2 separate regions of the Homo sapiens genome follow, and region 1 is linked to region 2. Evidence: promoter capture Hi-C in 16 types of primary human blood cells and fetal thymus (Javierre and others, 2016). All regions are on one chromosome and are shown on one strand. The core of a region is centred on a gene start or on the middle of the fragment in contact, and the rest is flanking DNA. Distances in the headings are between cores, read along the strand shown. Region 1 overlaps PACSIN2 (protein kinase C and casein kinase substrate in neurons 2). Region 2 holds the start of TTLL1 (TTL family tubulin polyglutamylase complex subunit L1).

What was found. The method cuts DNA at HindIII sites, captures the fragments that hold promoters and counts their contacts. A CHiCAGO score of 5 or more calls a contact.
Region 1: a fragment that was not itself captured here is called in contact with the fragment with the promoter of TTLL1 in region 2 in 1 of 17 cell types (M2 macrophages); the score reaches 5.1 in M2 macrophages.

What each region holds. Positions count from the first base shown.
Region 1 is chr22:42,891,020-42,898,162 of GRCh38, reverse strand. PACSIN2 (protein kinase C and casein kinase substrate in neurons 2) reads left to right here. Exons shown (of 11, transcript NM_001184970.3): 3 at 4,550-4,706; 4 at 6,981-7,143. Among named protein-coding and RNA genes, the nearest start is that of ARFGAP3, 37 kb to the right of the region's middle. RefSeq lists enhancers at 1-601, 5,041-5,140. The HindIII fragment of the contact is 2,032 bases long and covers 1,543-3,574 here.
Region 2 is chr22:43,084,583-43,091,572 of GRCh38, reverse strand. It overlaps TTLL1 (TTL family tubulin polyglutamylase complex subunit L1), which reads left to right and starts at 2,182. Exons shown (of 11, transcript NM_012263.5): 1 at 2,182-2,296. RefSeq lists silencers at 1,208-1,267, 2,016-2,310, 2,075-2,414 and an enhancer at 2,016-2,310. The HindIII fragment of the contact is 9,359 bases long and covers 1-6,750 here.

The sequences.
Region 1 (7,143 bases), core at 1,309-3,808, 190 kb after region 2:
CCTCCACCTGGAGGATGGGCAGCTCCCTTTTTTGGCTCGCATGCCCTGGGTTCCACTGAGCAGCCCCATTCTCTGGAGGCTGCTCTCAATTCTTCCTTCCAGGATGTCCCCACCCCCGCCAGCCTTCTGAGCCCCACCAGTCCCCAAGCCTGACACCCTTCAGGATGCAGGCCTAGCCTTCCCAGTTTCTCAGCATCTGCCCTCCCTCATTGCCATTTGCTCCCTGTGTTCTGTGTTCCATTCCCAGCTGACTTCTCTCAGGGCCCCAGGGTTGCCATGTGGACACACCTTCCTTTTGCCAGTGCTGTTCCCTGTGCCTGGAATTATTTTCCTGGCCTCACCTTTAATCTGGCCAGCCTCCTACCTGTCCTTGAAGATGCCCTTTGGATATTGCGTTCAGGATACCTCTCACCCCCTCCTCCTAGTGCCCCAGTTCCAGTGCCCTGTGCCCAAGCACTGAGTCCCTCAGTAGGTACATGCTTGGCCCTCCGTCTGCCAGGCAGTCCCTCAGGGGAGTGAAGGGATGTCCAGGCACATGTATGCTGAGCATTTGTCTTTGGTAGCTTAGTTTCTGAGTGGAGTGAGCCTGAATTTAGAGGAAGTTAGGAACATAGCTTCATACCTGGTTCAAAAATGAGGATTTTGTGAATGAAGCAATTAATATGTTTGGAAGAAAGCATGCTTATATTCAGTTTCTACCTAAAGTTTTCTGCCATTTGGCTATCCCAAAACAACCTAATGTTTTGAAGAAGTAGAAGAGAGGTTTTTAATTACAAAACTGATAGAGCAGAAATAGTTAACTATATATGTGCTGATTTTAATGTATGATCGATTTGTCAAATATTTGAAAATTAATTTTCTTGCATTGTAAAAACTAGTCATTATTATACGTTTGATTTTTTAAAAAATATATTAAAAAGGGAACAGGCCAGGCGCTGTGGCTTATACATGTAATCCCAACACTTTGGGAGGCCAAGGTGGGAGGATCGCTTGAGCCCAGGAATTCAAGACCAGCCTAGGCAACACGGCAAAACCCTGTCTCTGCAAAAAATACAAAAATTAGCCAGGTGTGGTGGTGCGTACCTGTAGTTCCAGCTACTCTGGAGGCTGAGGTGGGAGGATCACTTGAGCCTGGGAGGTTAAGGCCACAGTGAGCCATGATTGTGGCACTGCACTCTAGCCTGGGCAACAAAGCAAGACCCTGTCTCAAAAAGAAAAAAAAGGAACAAACTTTACTCAAGAAGGCATACAGATGGCAAATAGTCATAAGAAAAGATTTTCAGTATTATTAGACTTTAGAAAGATGCAAATTAAAATCACAATGCAATATTGCTACACTAAGTAGAATGGCTAAAAATAACAAAACAGAACAAAACACCCTGGCAATACTAAGTGCTGGGAGCATGCAGGACAGGGAAGTCTCATACGTTGCTGATGGCAGTGCACAGCTGTCCAGTCACTTTGGGTAGCAGTTCGGCAGTTTTGTTAAACGTACAGTTAACATTTCCATTCCTAGGTATTCACCGAAGAGTCATGGAAGCTTATGTCCCCACAAAAGACCAATAGATGAACGTTATAGCTTCTTTATTCATAATTCCCCCAAACTGAAAATGACCCAAGCAACCTTCAGCAGGAAGAATATGGATAAACCAAAGAGTGGTATAACTACCCAATCGAATACTACTTAGCAGTAAGAAAGAGTGAACTTCTGATAGTGGTATACCTACACAGTCGAATACTACTTAGCAGTAAGAAAGAGTGAACTTCTGATAGTGGCATAACTACACAATCGAATACTACTTAGCAGTAAGAAAGAGTGACCTTCTGACGTAGATAGCAACATGGATCAGTCTCAGAAACATTATGGTGGGTGACAGAAGCCAGTCTCAAAAGCCAGGCTGCATACTGTGTATTCCATATATCCTTGCCATCCTGGAAAAGGGGCAAAAATCATGTCTGTGGTTGCTGGGGGCTGTATGGGGAGGGGATGGGCTGCAAGGGGGCACAAAGGCACTTCATGAGAGATGGAAGTGTCCTGTTCCTTGCTGTGGAGGTGGTAGACAGTGGTATATGTTTGTCCACATTCAGATCTAAGTGTACCCTGTAGTGGGCAGTTTTGCCTGTGTGTAGATTCCATCTCGACCTAGAGAAGCAGCCAGCAGTAGCTCTGCTCCTGGGACGACTGCAGTGCTTTGCCCAGGGAAGTGGAAAGGCCACATTGCTCTGTCCCTGGTGGTTTATGGCGATAGAGACTTCCAGTGATGGCCTTCACCGGCCACCACACAACCGTTTCATTAAAGGGACAGCAGGGCCGATGTTGCTGGGGTGCCTCGGTCCCAACTGTTTGGCATACTGCCCTTCTCCCGTTGGCTCTGTGCTCAGCCAACTTGCCTCTTGTCCCCAGCAGTGGTCACAGGACCAGCACAGGCTCCTCTGCAGCCTCTAGGACCAACTGGGAGCTTATTTGGAAACCTGAAATGTGTACTTACGGAAACACTCTTCCTGTATTCATCACGGATTTCCACATTTCAAGAGTTGTCATGTAAATGTGTATTTGCAGCTCCTGTGTGTGCCGATGGGTGGTACCAACATGTGACTTGTTAAGAAATATCCTTTTCTTTTCCCTAAACCTTTAACCAGTGGTTCTGAAAATCACAGAGATAAGCAGGTTTCAAGAGAGCCAAAATACATGATTTGATGGTGATTACCAATTTGAATACTGTTGGTAATAGGCAGATGAAAACCAGCTCTGGGTTGTGGCTTCATGTCGACTGTCAAGGCTAAGTTAGGGCCGTGTTACCTCAGCTCCTCCTACCACCAGCTCAACGATACTGAGTTGCTTGTTGGGTATTTTTTTCATCCTGCTGTAAATTTCAAAATGACAGTAAGGCCTCATTTTAAGGGAAGCAACCACATAATGTCACTTCCAGTGAGCTGTGAAAATGCTCACTTCCGACTTCCTCACAGGAGCTGCTCTAGTTTGGAGTGGATGCTCAGGTTCAGCTCATGTTTTGACGAGCTGCCGAGCTGCCAGCCTTGCTGGGGGAGGTCTTTGGAGGGAATGAGTAGAGCCGGAAGTCTCATCTGCCTCTGGAGAAGGCTGCCCAGGCTAACCACCTTCCAGGGGTCTTTGCTTTTCACCAGGATTCTGGTTCTCACAGGAGTGGAGTCATCTCAGCCCATGTAGCTCAGCCTCAGGGACAGCCCTTCCTCCAGGTGCTGCAGCCCCCTTCCCTCCCCTTGCCCATCTCTGTGCAGGGCCAGGCAAAGAGATTTTAGAAAAGGTAAAACTGACAAGGGGTTGACTAAGATTTTTGAAGGCATTGGGAGAAAAAGGCTGAAAAGAGATCGTTTTTCTGTCATATTTCCTCTGGGTGCTCAAGTTATCAGCGACTGTAGCCTTTCAAGCCAGCAGCTAAAAGAATGAAACATATCGAACATTTTCGTTTTCACCCCAAATTAGCCATTAACATTTCCTCAGTTACTCTTTTATTACTTATAACTTTGATGAACTAGTTTTTCTTTTCATATACGAAAAAAGGCAGTCAAAACTCAGCTTAGCCCTGACAAAGCTTTGCCATCAAGACAGTCCTACTTGGAACCCTTTGAAAAACTGCCTTTGGGCTGGGCGCGGTGCCTCACGCCTGTAATCCCAGCACTTTGGGAGGCTGATGTGGGTGGATCACAAGGTCAGGAGATTGAGACCATCCTGGCCAACATGGTGAAACCCTGTCTCCACTAAAAATACAAAAACTAGCTGGGTGTGATGGCATGCGTGCCTGTAGTCCCAGCTACTGAGGAGGCTGAGGCAGAAGAATCACTTGAACCTGGGATGCGGAGGTTGCAGTGAGCCGAGATCGTGCCACTGCACTCCAGCCTGACGACAGCGAGACTGTGTCTCAAAAAAAAAAACAATTGCCTTCAGCTCCAGCCTAGCCACTGTGGCTGCAGGATCTTGACAAACCACGTAACTTCTCTAAGCCTTTGTTTCCTCATCTGTAAAATGGGGACACTTATTCCTACTAGGTAGGGGAGACAGTATTTGGAGGTGTAAAACACCTAGCAGGTCGCCTGGCACATGGTAGGTGCTCAGGAAGTGGAAAAGTTTTTACAGCTATGATTGGGAAGTAATAACCCAGCACATGATGGATGACATCAAAGCAGAAGGCTTTGGTTAGATGTCACCTACTCCAGGAAGCCAGCCCCAGCCCCTCAGTCTGCGTGAGGTGCCCGTTTAGGCATCCTCAGCCCCACCCCTTCCTGAGCCAGTCAGCCTCCCTTCCTGACCCACAGCCCAGTTTCTACTTGGTACCCAACCTAAAGAACATTGAGAAGCCCCCGTTCACTGATGTGTATGATCTTATTAATAATAAAAATAGAGAGGCTCATTATCTAACTACACGGAGTGCCTTTCAAACTCTTGGAGAGGGGTGTGGTAAACATGACCCCAGGGGCGCATCAGGGCCTGGTTGGCATGGAGGCCATTTGTGCCACAGCCAAGGACAGGCTGCCCCAAGCCCCCTGCCTCCCAGCTGGTTCTCTCTCCTAGGTCGGGAACTACAAGCGGACTGTGAAGCGGATCGACGATGGCCACCGCCTGTGCAGCGACCTCATGAACTGCCTGCATGAGCGGGCGCGCATCGAGAAGGCGTATGCGCAGCAGCTCACTGAGTGGGCCCGGCGCTGGAGGCAGCTCGTGGAGAAAGGTATGGGGCCCCGGCACAGGTCCTGTGGCCTGGAGGCAGCTACACCCCAGCCGGGGGCTCTGGGCACGTTGTGACCCTCTCTATGCCAGTTTTCTGTCTTTTAAGATTGGGGCAAGAGTGCATTTCCCAGTTCCAGAGCGGGGTGTGATTTTTATGGGGAGCATTAGCGCCCATCACCAGAAGGCACAGGCTCCATGAGCTTTTGTCCACTTTCCTTGGGGACACAGGACTATAGCCCTTGTCATCCATAGGACACACTTGCACTTGCCGAGTTAACTCAGAACTCGGGTAAGTTCCTATCACGTGGAAGGCCTTGCCGCTTGGCACCTTAGTTTCTAACACTGAGAGCTGTTTATTTTTAAACTTGGCCATGTAGCAGGTCAGATAAGACTAGCTGGCAACACCTGGCAGTCTTTCTGAGTTTACATTTTAAGGGAATAATTACAGGTGTTGTATGGCAGAGGTTTCACCCCCTTCTGTCCCCACCGAAAAGCTCAGAAGATTCTGTAGCTTTATTAGTGCCACTGTTGTGTGGACAGGGGCCATGCTTAGAACACACTTCCCAGCAGGGAAGGGGAACTTGACTGATTACAGCCTTTCCGGCACAGAAGCAGAGCAGTGTGGGTTTCTCAAGGTGTGTTTTGGGGCAGGCTTTCCTGTGCTGACCAGCTGTCCTCAGCCCCAGCTGTCCTCAGCCAATCAGGGGAGCCAGGTCCCAAGCAAGCCAGGTCTAGTCCAGCTGCCTGTCCTTTCCCGTGATGCTGACATGGGTTGTTTGTGTGGGCTTAGCACAGTCCTTAGGGCAGGGTATGTGCCCAGGCTGTGGAGCAGGCACGTGGCAGAGGAGGGGCCTAGGATAGGTCAGCTCCCTTGGTCGGTGGCAGTGTCGTCATTTCGTTTCCACCTGCTGCAGCCCCTCTCCCAGGATCAAGCTGTCAGTCAGAGCTTGAGGTTTACAGAGCACCCTTACCACCCTCACCTTGTGGGTCTGGCTGTAACGTTGTGGACAGGACAGGAATGTGCTCATTTTGTAGACACGAAGGCACAGAGAGGTCCAACTTCCGGGGCTGTTCTCTGTTGTCTCCAAGCCCCAGAGTCACGTGTCCCCCTCTGGGTTCTCACAGCCTGCCCTCCCCTCAGCCCACCTCTGTCATGACTCAGCGCACTTGGTCACTGTCCCTGTGACCACCTTGAAGACCAGCCATGGATCTTCTCGATTTCTGCCCCGGCTCCGTTGTGGCTCTCCCTCCCTCCAGCCTCACGCCACCCCACCCTACCCCCTGAATAGAAATGCCAGCCTGGATTAGGGCTTCCTTCCTGAGCCTCGGGGACTGAGAACAGTGAGTAGGGAGAGGCGACTCAGCCCCTCCTGCCATACTGGTCCAGAGCAGGCTCCTGCTTCCTCCTCTCCTTCCTCCTGCAGGATGGGCTTCCATTCTGCTGAGGGGACAGTCCTCATTCCACAGTGTTCTCAAGCTTGTGCTCAGAGCCAGGCTCTTTCTGGGAGTGAATGAACACAGTCCTGCAGAGGAAGGCAGTGCAGGGCTAGCCAGGGGCCAAGCAGGGCTGATAGGAGCCATGCCAGGAGAAGCGTTGGCATGGTGTGGGTGGGTGCCCAACACCTGGGAGAAGCATCTGCTCACTTCAGAAGGTCCCCCCTTCTCTGGCCACCTTTAAGTAAATTAAGACTTCTAAGATGTGGAAATTTGAGTTTTTATAGAGTTCAGTGGCTTTAAATAAAGGAAAGGCATGGCCGGGCGCGGTGGCTCACGCCTGTAATCCCTGCACTTTGGGAGGCCGAGGCGAATGGATCACCTGAGGTCAGGAGTTCGAGATCAGCCAGCCTGGCCAACATGGTGAAACCCCGTCTCTACTAAAAATACAAAAATTTAGCCAGGCGTGGTGGCGGGCACCTGTAATCCCAGCTACTCGGGAGGCTGAGGCAGGAGAATCTCTTGAACCTGGGAGACAGAGTTTGCAGTGAGCCAAGATCACGTCTCTGCACTCCAGCCGGGACAATAAGAGCGAAACTCCATCCCAAAAATAAAAATAAAGGAAAGGCATGTAATCCCCCAATTTTCCTAACACGAGGGGCAGAGCAAATTCAGCTTTGGGAACTGAAAAAGGCACAGAGTCCCTGAGAGAAAAATATCTGAAACCCTGAAAGGAAACCCTCTGTGGTCTAAATGGCCACATTGAACAGCCGAGGTGTGAGCAGAGCAGACCCCACCATGGCCGGCGCTGAGTGACCCGCAGCTTCTCTCCCCTGCACAGGGCCCCAGTACGGGACCGTGGAGAAGGCCTGGATGGCCTTCATGTCCGAGGCAGAGAGGGTGAGCGAGCTGCACCTCGAGGTGAAGGCCTCACTGATGAACGATGACTTCGAGAAGATCAAGAACTGGCAGAAGGAAGCCTTTCACAAGCAGATGATGGGCGG
Region 2 (6,990 bases), core at 933-3,432:
CTGAGTAGCTGGGACTACAGGCGTGTGCCATCATGCCCGGCTAATTTTTGTATTTTTAGTAGAGACGGGTTTCCATCATGTTGGCCAGAATGGTCTCGATCTCTTGACCTCATGATCCGCCCACCTCGGCCTCCCAAAGTGCTAAGATTACAGGCGTGAGCCACTGCGCCCGGCCAATTTACCACTATTTTTTAAAAAGTGGTGATAACACCATTAACTCAGCAGAGTTCTTGTGGGGATTCATTGAGGGGAGCTGTGGCCAGCTTCTTAGGGTAAGGCCAGCCTCATGGGCCTGTGACCTGTACAGAACCATAGGACCCCGTGCTCAGACAAGCCCTGAAGTTAGTTTAATGCTGCTGTCGCCATCTTAAAGTTCTTTTTTTTTTTTTAAGACGGAGTCTCGCCCTGTTGCCCAGGCTGGAGTGCAATAGTGCGATCTCGGCTCACTGTAACCTCTGTCTCCCAGGCTCAAACAATTCTCCTGCCTCAGCCTCCCAAGTAGCTGGGATTACAAGTGCGCACCACCATGCCCGGCAAATTTTTGTATTTTTAGTAAAGACGGGGTTTCACCATGTTGGCCAGGCTGGTCTCAAACTGCTGACCTTAGGTGATCCACCCGCCTCGGCCTCCCAAAGTGCTGGGATTACAGGCGTAAGGCACCATGCCCTGCCTTAAAATTCTTTTTTTGTTGTTGTTTTTTTTAACTTTTTTTCTCTAAGAGACAGAGTCTTGTTCTGTTGGCCAGGCTGTAGTGTAGTGGCGGGATCATAGCTCACTGCAGCCTCAATCTCCTAGGCTCAAGTGATCCACCTCAGCCTCCTGAGTAACTGAGTAGGACTGCTGGCTACGCCCCCATACCCGGCTGATTAAAAATATTTTTTCTTTTTTTTTTAGAAATGGGGTCTTGCTATATTGGCCAGGCTGGTCTGGAACTCCTGACCTCAAGTGATCCTCCCATCTTGGCCTCCCAAAGTACAGGGATTGCAGGCATGAGGCAACATGCTGGAAGGCTACAATGTTTATTGAACACTTTACTATGCCAGGCCCTAACCACGTCTTGCAAGCCTTCACTCATCTCCTGGGTTTAAGGTGAGAACACTGTAGTCGGAAGCCTTGGGACTTCTCAAGGCCTCACAACCAGACAGCAGCTGAAGGGTATGAATTGGCAATTTGGACTCCAGATAAGTGTTGGTTCCACTAGATGGTGCCAAAAGTAAATGATGATGCGCTGAATGTGCTCTGGGCCTGGGAGGCGGTTGTGTGGGAGATTATAGGAAGTGATGTTAGCAAAGCTCCAATCATCACTAAGAAAGCACACCACCACCCCTCCTGAGAGGCAGCAGCATGAATGGTCAGGTGTCCTGGGTTCAAAGCCAGACTCTGTCACTTACAAGTTGCACAAGTTTGCATAACTCTTTAAATTGATGAAATTAAAAATGAATAATTGTATAGAGAATTCGAGGTAACACAGGTCTATAACGAGAATAATAAACGTCTTTTTTTTTTTTTTTTGAGGCGGAGTCTTGTTCTGTCGCCCAGGCTTGAGTGCAGTGGCACGATCTTGGCTCACTGCAACCTCTGTCTCCCGGGTTCAAGCGATTCTCTTGCCTCAGCCTAGCCAGGATGGTCTCGATCTCCTGACCTCGCGACCCACCCGCCTCTGCCTCCCAAAGTGCTGGGATTACAGGCGTGAGCCACCGAGTCTGGCCCAGATAAACACTTTTTAAAAAAAATTATTTTATTTTTATGTTATTATTATTATTATTATTTGAGATGGAGTCTCGCTCTATCGCCCAGGCTGGAGTGCAGTGGCGCAACATCACCATTTCTTCAGATAAGGAAGCCGAGGTAGAAGGGGTAGGAGAGGCTAAACAGCGGATTGAGACCGAACCCAGGATTCGGACCTAATCATCACACCGCTCTACCTTTCTTTTTAGACTTAATCCCGTGCTCCAGACCCTTCTCAATCTCCTTTCTGGGCCCCGAGAGGGTGGACGGCCTGGCATTTCCTAGGATCCAAGCCCTGGGCATAGCGGCCGCCCGAGGTATGGAGCCCAAAGGAGCCCCAGGCAAGTCTGACTCCGGAAATAGTCGCAGCGCCGGCGGTCGCGTCCTGGGTTGCCAGGGCGCCGCCCTGGAAGTAGAGTGCAGCGCGGGGCGGGGCGGGCCGGTGCGCCTGGCAGTCGGCTGCGTACTCCTGCGAGCGCCGGAGAGGGGCTGGAGGCGGGGCGAGGGCGCGGCTCGAGGCATCCCTGCAGGGCGCTCCTCCGAGTCCCTCGGCGCTCTGAGCCCACAGGTGAGGTCCTGTCCCCCAGGCCGCCGCCTCCCGGGCACCGAGGGTGTGGCTGCGCGCGGGCTGGCGAGTGCGCATGGGTGAGAGAGTGTGGGCGCCAGTGTCTACGCGGCTGCGAAAATGCGGTTCAGATGCTGCTTGCCGGATCCGCGTCCTCCAGGAAGCCCGCGCTAACCACCGTGCCTTTCTCCGTCCGCTGAGTTCCTATGACTTACCTCGTGCTGTCCGACTGTTGCAATTGCATCATTATGTTTATTATTTGTTATCCCAGACTTTCATTGTTCCTACACGTTTCCCATTCGTTTGCAATCTGTGTTGTTTCTGTTGGCATCTTTTGCAGGGCGCAATGTACCTGTGGAGAGAACTCAGGGCAGGAGACAAGAGCCTTGTGTCTTCCCTCTAGATGACTGGACCAAGACATTTCCCCTCTCTGATTCCCTATCAGCTAAGAGGGCAGGGCGGGGTAGTCATCCTTTTCCATAGAGTAGCTGGGGCATTAGAGGAGATTAATTCTGGAAGTGAAAGTATCTTATCATTGTTAGCCCTTTTGGCATTTGCAAAGCAGGTTCTTTGCTCAGGAAACGTTTGATGAGCACATTATGGTGCCGGGTTGTGGCGGTACAAAAAGATGGGCCCCGGCCGGGCACGGTGGCTCACGCCTGTAATCCCAGCACTTTGGGAGGCCGAGGCGGGAGGATCACGAGGTCAGGAGATCGAGACCATCCTGGCTAACACGGTGAAACCCCGTCTATACTAAAAATACAAAAAAAAAAAAATTAGCCGGGCATGGTGGCGGGGGCCTGTAGTCCCAGCTACTCGGGAGGCTGAGGCAGGAGAATGGCGTGAACCCGGGAGGCGGAGCTTGCAGTGAGCCGAGATTGCGCCACTGCACTCCAGCCTGGGCGACAGAGCGAGATTCTGTCTCAAAAAAAAAAAAAAAAAAAAAAAAAAAAAAGATGGGCCCTTCTCTGCCCTCAAATTACAGACACTGGTAAGCAGTCACTGTGGAGCATGGTACTGTCACCCAGTGCGGGCGTGGAGATGGACAGTGACAATACCGCTGTGAACGAATGCCCTGCTCAACATGAAGTCATCACTGACATTGTTATTACTTTATTTATTTATTTATTTATTTTTAGACGGAGTCTTGCTTTGTTGCCCAGGCTGGAGTGCGGTCGCTCTCGGCTCACTGCAACCTCTGCCTCCTGGGTTCAAGCGATTCTCCTGCCTCAGCCTCCCATGTAGCTGTGATTACAGGCACGCGCCACCATGCCCCGCTAATTTTTTAAATTTTAGTAGAGATGGGGTTTCGCCATGTTGGCCAGGCTGGTCTCGAGCTCCTGACCTCAGGTGATCCGCCCACCTCGGCCTCCCAAAGTGCTGGGATTACAAGCGTGAGCCACTGTGCCTGGCCATATTCTTGGTTTTTTTTTTTTTTTTTTGAGACCGTCTCACTCTGTCACCCAGGCTGGAGTGTGCAGTGGTGCGATCTTGGCTCACTGCAACCTCTGCCTCCCGGGTTCAAGCAATCCTCCCACCTCAGCCTCCCAGATAGCTTGGATTACAGGCGCCCACCACCACGCCCGGCTGATATTTGTATTTTTAGTAGAGATAGGGTTTCACCATGTTGGCCAGGCTGGTTTTGAATTCCTGACCTCAGGTGATCTACCCACCTTGGCCTCCCAAAGTGTTGGGATTACAGGCGTGAGCCACCGTGCCCTGCTAAGAATCTGTATTTCTTTTTTTTTTTTTTTTTGAGATGGAGTCTCACTCTGTTGCCCGGGCTGGAGTGCAGTGGCGTGATGCCAGCTCACTGCAACCTCCACCTCCCAGGTTCAAGTGATTCTCGTGCATCAGCCTTCTGAGTAGCTGGGATTACAGATGTGCACCACCACGCGCAGCTAATTTTGTATTTTTAGTAGAGACGGGGTTTCACCATGTTAGCCAGGCTGGTCTCGAACTCCCGACCTCAGGTGATCCACCTGTCTTGGCCTCCCAAAGAATCTGTATTTCTAACAAGCTCCAGGTGCTGCTCACATGTGGGCCATGCTTTGAGTAGCACTGGACTAAATGATTGCTTACAACCCAAGTGCCATGGAGAAAATAAAGTGACAATGTGGTGGAGTCAGGAGGATTGAGATTGAGTGGTTGGGGAAAGCCACTCTGAGCAGTTGACTTTTGAGAAGGGACAGATCTGGAGGACGAGCAAAGGCTTAAGACAAAATGCAGCCTGTGGGGTGTCAGGAGCTGAAAGAAGGCCAGGGGCTAAAGAGGGTTGGTGAGAGACAAGGCCTAAGAGGTGATGGTCCAGATCTGCAGGGCTGGCCTCGTAGGCCATGGAGGACCACTAGCTTCATTCTGAATGCAGTATGAAGCTACTGTGGGGTAGTGAGCAGGGTGACATGGTTAGTGTTGTGTGTGTCACACATTGGTCCGCTGCTGGGTGGGAAATGGGTTGTAGTGGAGTGAGAAGAGTAGCAGGGGACAGAGTGGGGCCTGCTGCAGTTGCCCAGGAGAGAGGGGACATTATGGGAGTGGAGGATGGATTTGGAATCTTCTGGAGTGGAGCTGACCTGATTTGCTGCTGGATCAAATTAACCATCCCTTCCTTCCCCGGCCACAGTTGAACTGTGATGTGTTGTTGAAGCCCTTTGCTGCAGGCAGGCCTTACAGCTTGTTAAATGTGTCTCCTGTGCTCCTCGCCCCCATCTGGGCTCTCAGTTTAATGTCTGTCTGTTACAGGCCTGGCACTGAGTGGCTGTCAGGGCTGTGTGGGTGGATGAGAAGTTAGACCACCAGTGGCCCTGATATCCAGGGTGTTCATGGGAAACCTTCTCTTTGAGCTCATGACGATCCTACCCAGTTGCCCCAGGAGCGAGACCCAGGTTGTCTTCTGAAAATAACCAGCAGCTCTCTGGTTTCAGGATGGCTTTCTGTGGTTGACACACTTCAGGTGGTGACAGCCCCAACTCCAATTGTGAGCTGCATTCAACATAAAAGGTCAATATGTCACTCTGTTTTTCCTGGTTAGGTTTTTATGATGCTCAGTTTAGAAAGTGACGTAAGATTCAGATGCATCAATTCACGTGAACCAGGAGAGATAATAACACGTTACTCAGTACCCTTAACCCCACTTCCGTTTTCTGTTTTAGGAGGAAGCAACAATAAAACAATCTGATATCAGGTATTTATTTACTTTTCTAAGGAAAACGGCTTAGTATTGCTTAGGGTTGGGAAGGAATCACCCATTCTTCCACACTGTGGGGCGTGGCCCGGTGGATCACTTGTCTACACACGATTTTGGAGCCCCACGCTAGGCCTGGCTGGCTGCGTGCCCGACATGAGAACAGACACGAGTCAGCCCACTCCTGAGCCAGCCCGCTCCTGAGCCAGCCCACTCTGCTGCCCCGCAGGAGGTTGCTATCTAATGTGGGAGGCACATGTGAAATAACAGTTGCCATCTGGTGTGGGAGGGAAGCGTGTAGGCTGTCCACAGGCTGCACACTCTCCTCTTCTTTTTATTCTCTGGCCCCCATTTTCCTCATCTGTAAAATGCGGAGAATTCCTGCTGTATTAGTCTGTTCTCATGCTGCTAATAAAGACATACCCAAAACTGGGTAATTTATAAAAGGAAGAGGTTTAATTGACTCAGTCACAATCATGGCGGAAGATGAAGGAAGAGCAAAGGCACATTATACATGGTGGCAGGCAAGAGAGCTTGTGCAGGGGAACTCGCATTTATAAAACCATCAGATCTCACAAGATTTATTCACTACCACGAGAACAGTACGGGGGAACCACTCCCATGATTCGTTTATCTCCACCTTGCCCTGCCCTTGACTCGTGGGGATTATTACAAGTCAAGTTGAGATTGGGATACAGACAAATCATATCATCTGCCTTTGGGCATCACATGAGACGATAATATACACAGTGGAGAAGAATATTCATAAACTACCCCACCCAGTACCTGACACATGCTAGAGCTTAATAAGTGGTAGCTTTGCCAGGCGCGGTGGCTCACACCTGTAATCCCAGCACTTTGGGAGGCCGAGGCAGGCGGATCACGAGGTCAGGAGATGGAGACCATCCTGGCTGACACAGTGAAACCTCGTCTCTATTAAAAATACAAAAAATTAGCCGGGCATGGTGGCATGCGCCTGTAGTCCCAGCTACTCGGGAGGCTGAGGCAGGAGAATCGCTTGAATCACTTGAACCTGGAAAGTGGAGGTTACAGTGAGCTGAGATCGCGCCACTGCACTCCAGCCTGGGCGACAGAGCAAGATGCCATCTCAAAAAAAAAAAAAAAAAAAAAAAGGTGGCAGCTTTTGTTCTTAATGATGATATAAATTTGTCATTCCTTACTCTGTGCAGGCATGGTTGAGCTCCAGTGCCCAGCCAGGGCCCTGGCTAGAATTACTCCAACCTAACCACCTGATGATAAGAGATTGGAAGCTTGTGGTTGAAACCTAGAAAAAAGGCTGGGCACAGTGGCTCATGCCTGTAATCCCAGCACTTTGGGAGGCTGAGGCGGGCAGATAACAAGGTCAGGAGATCGAGACCATCCTGGCTAACACGGTGAAACCCCATCTCTACTAAAAATACAAAAAATTATCCGGGCGTGGTGGCGGGCGCCTGTAGTCCTGGCTACTCGGGAGGCTGAGGCAGGAGAATGGCGTGAGCCCAGGAGGCAGAGC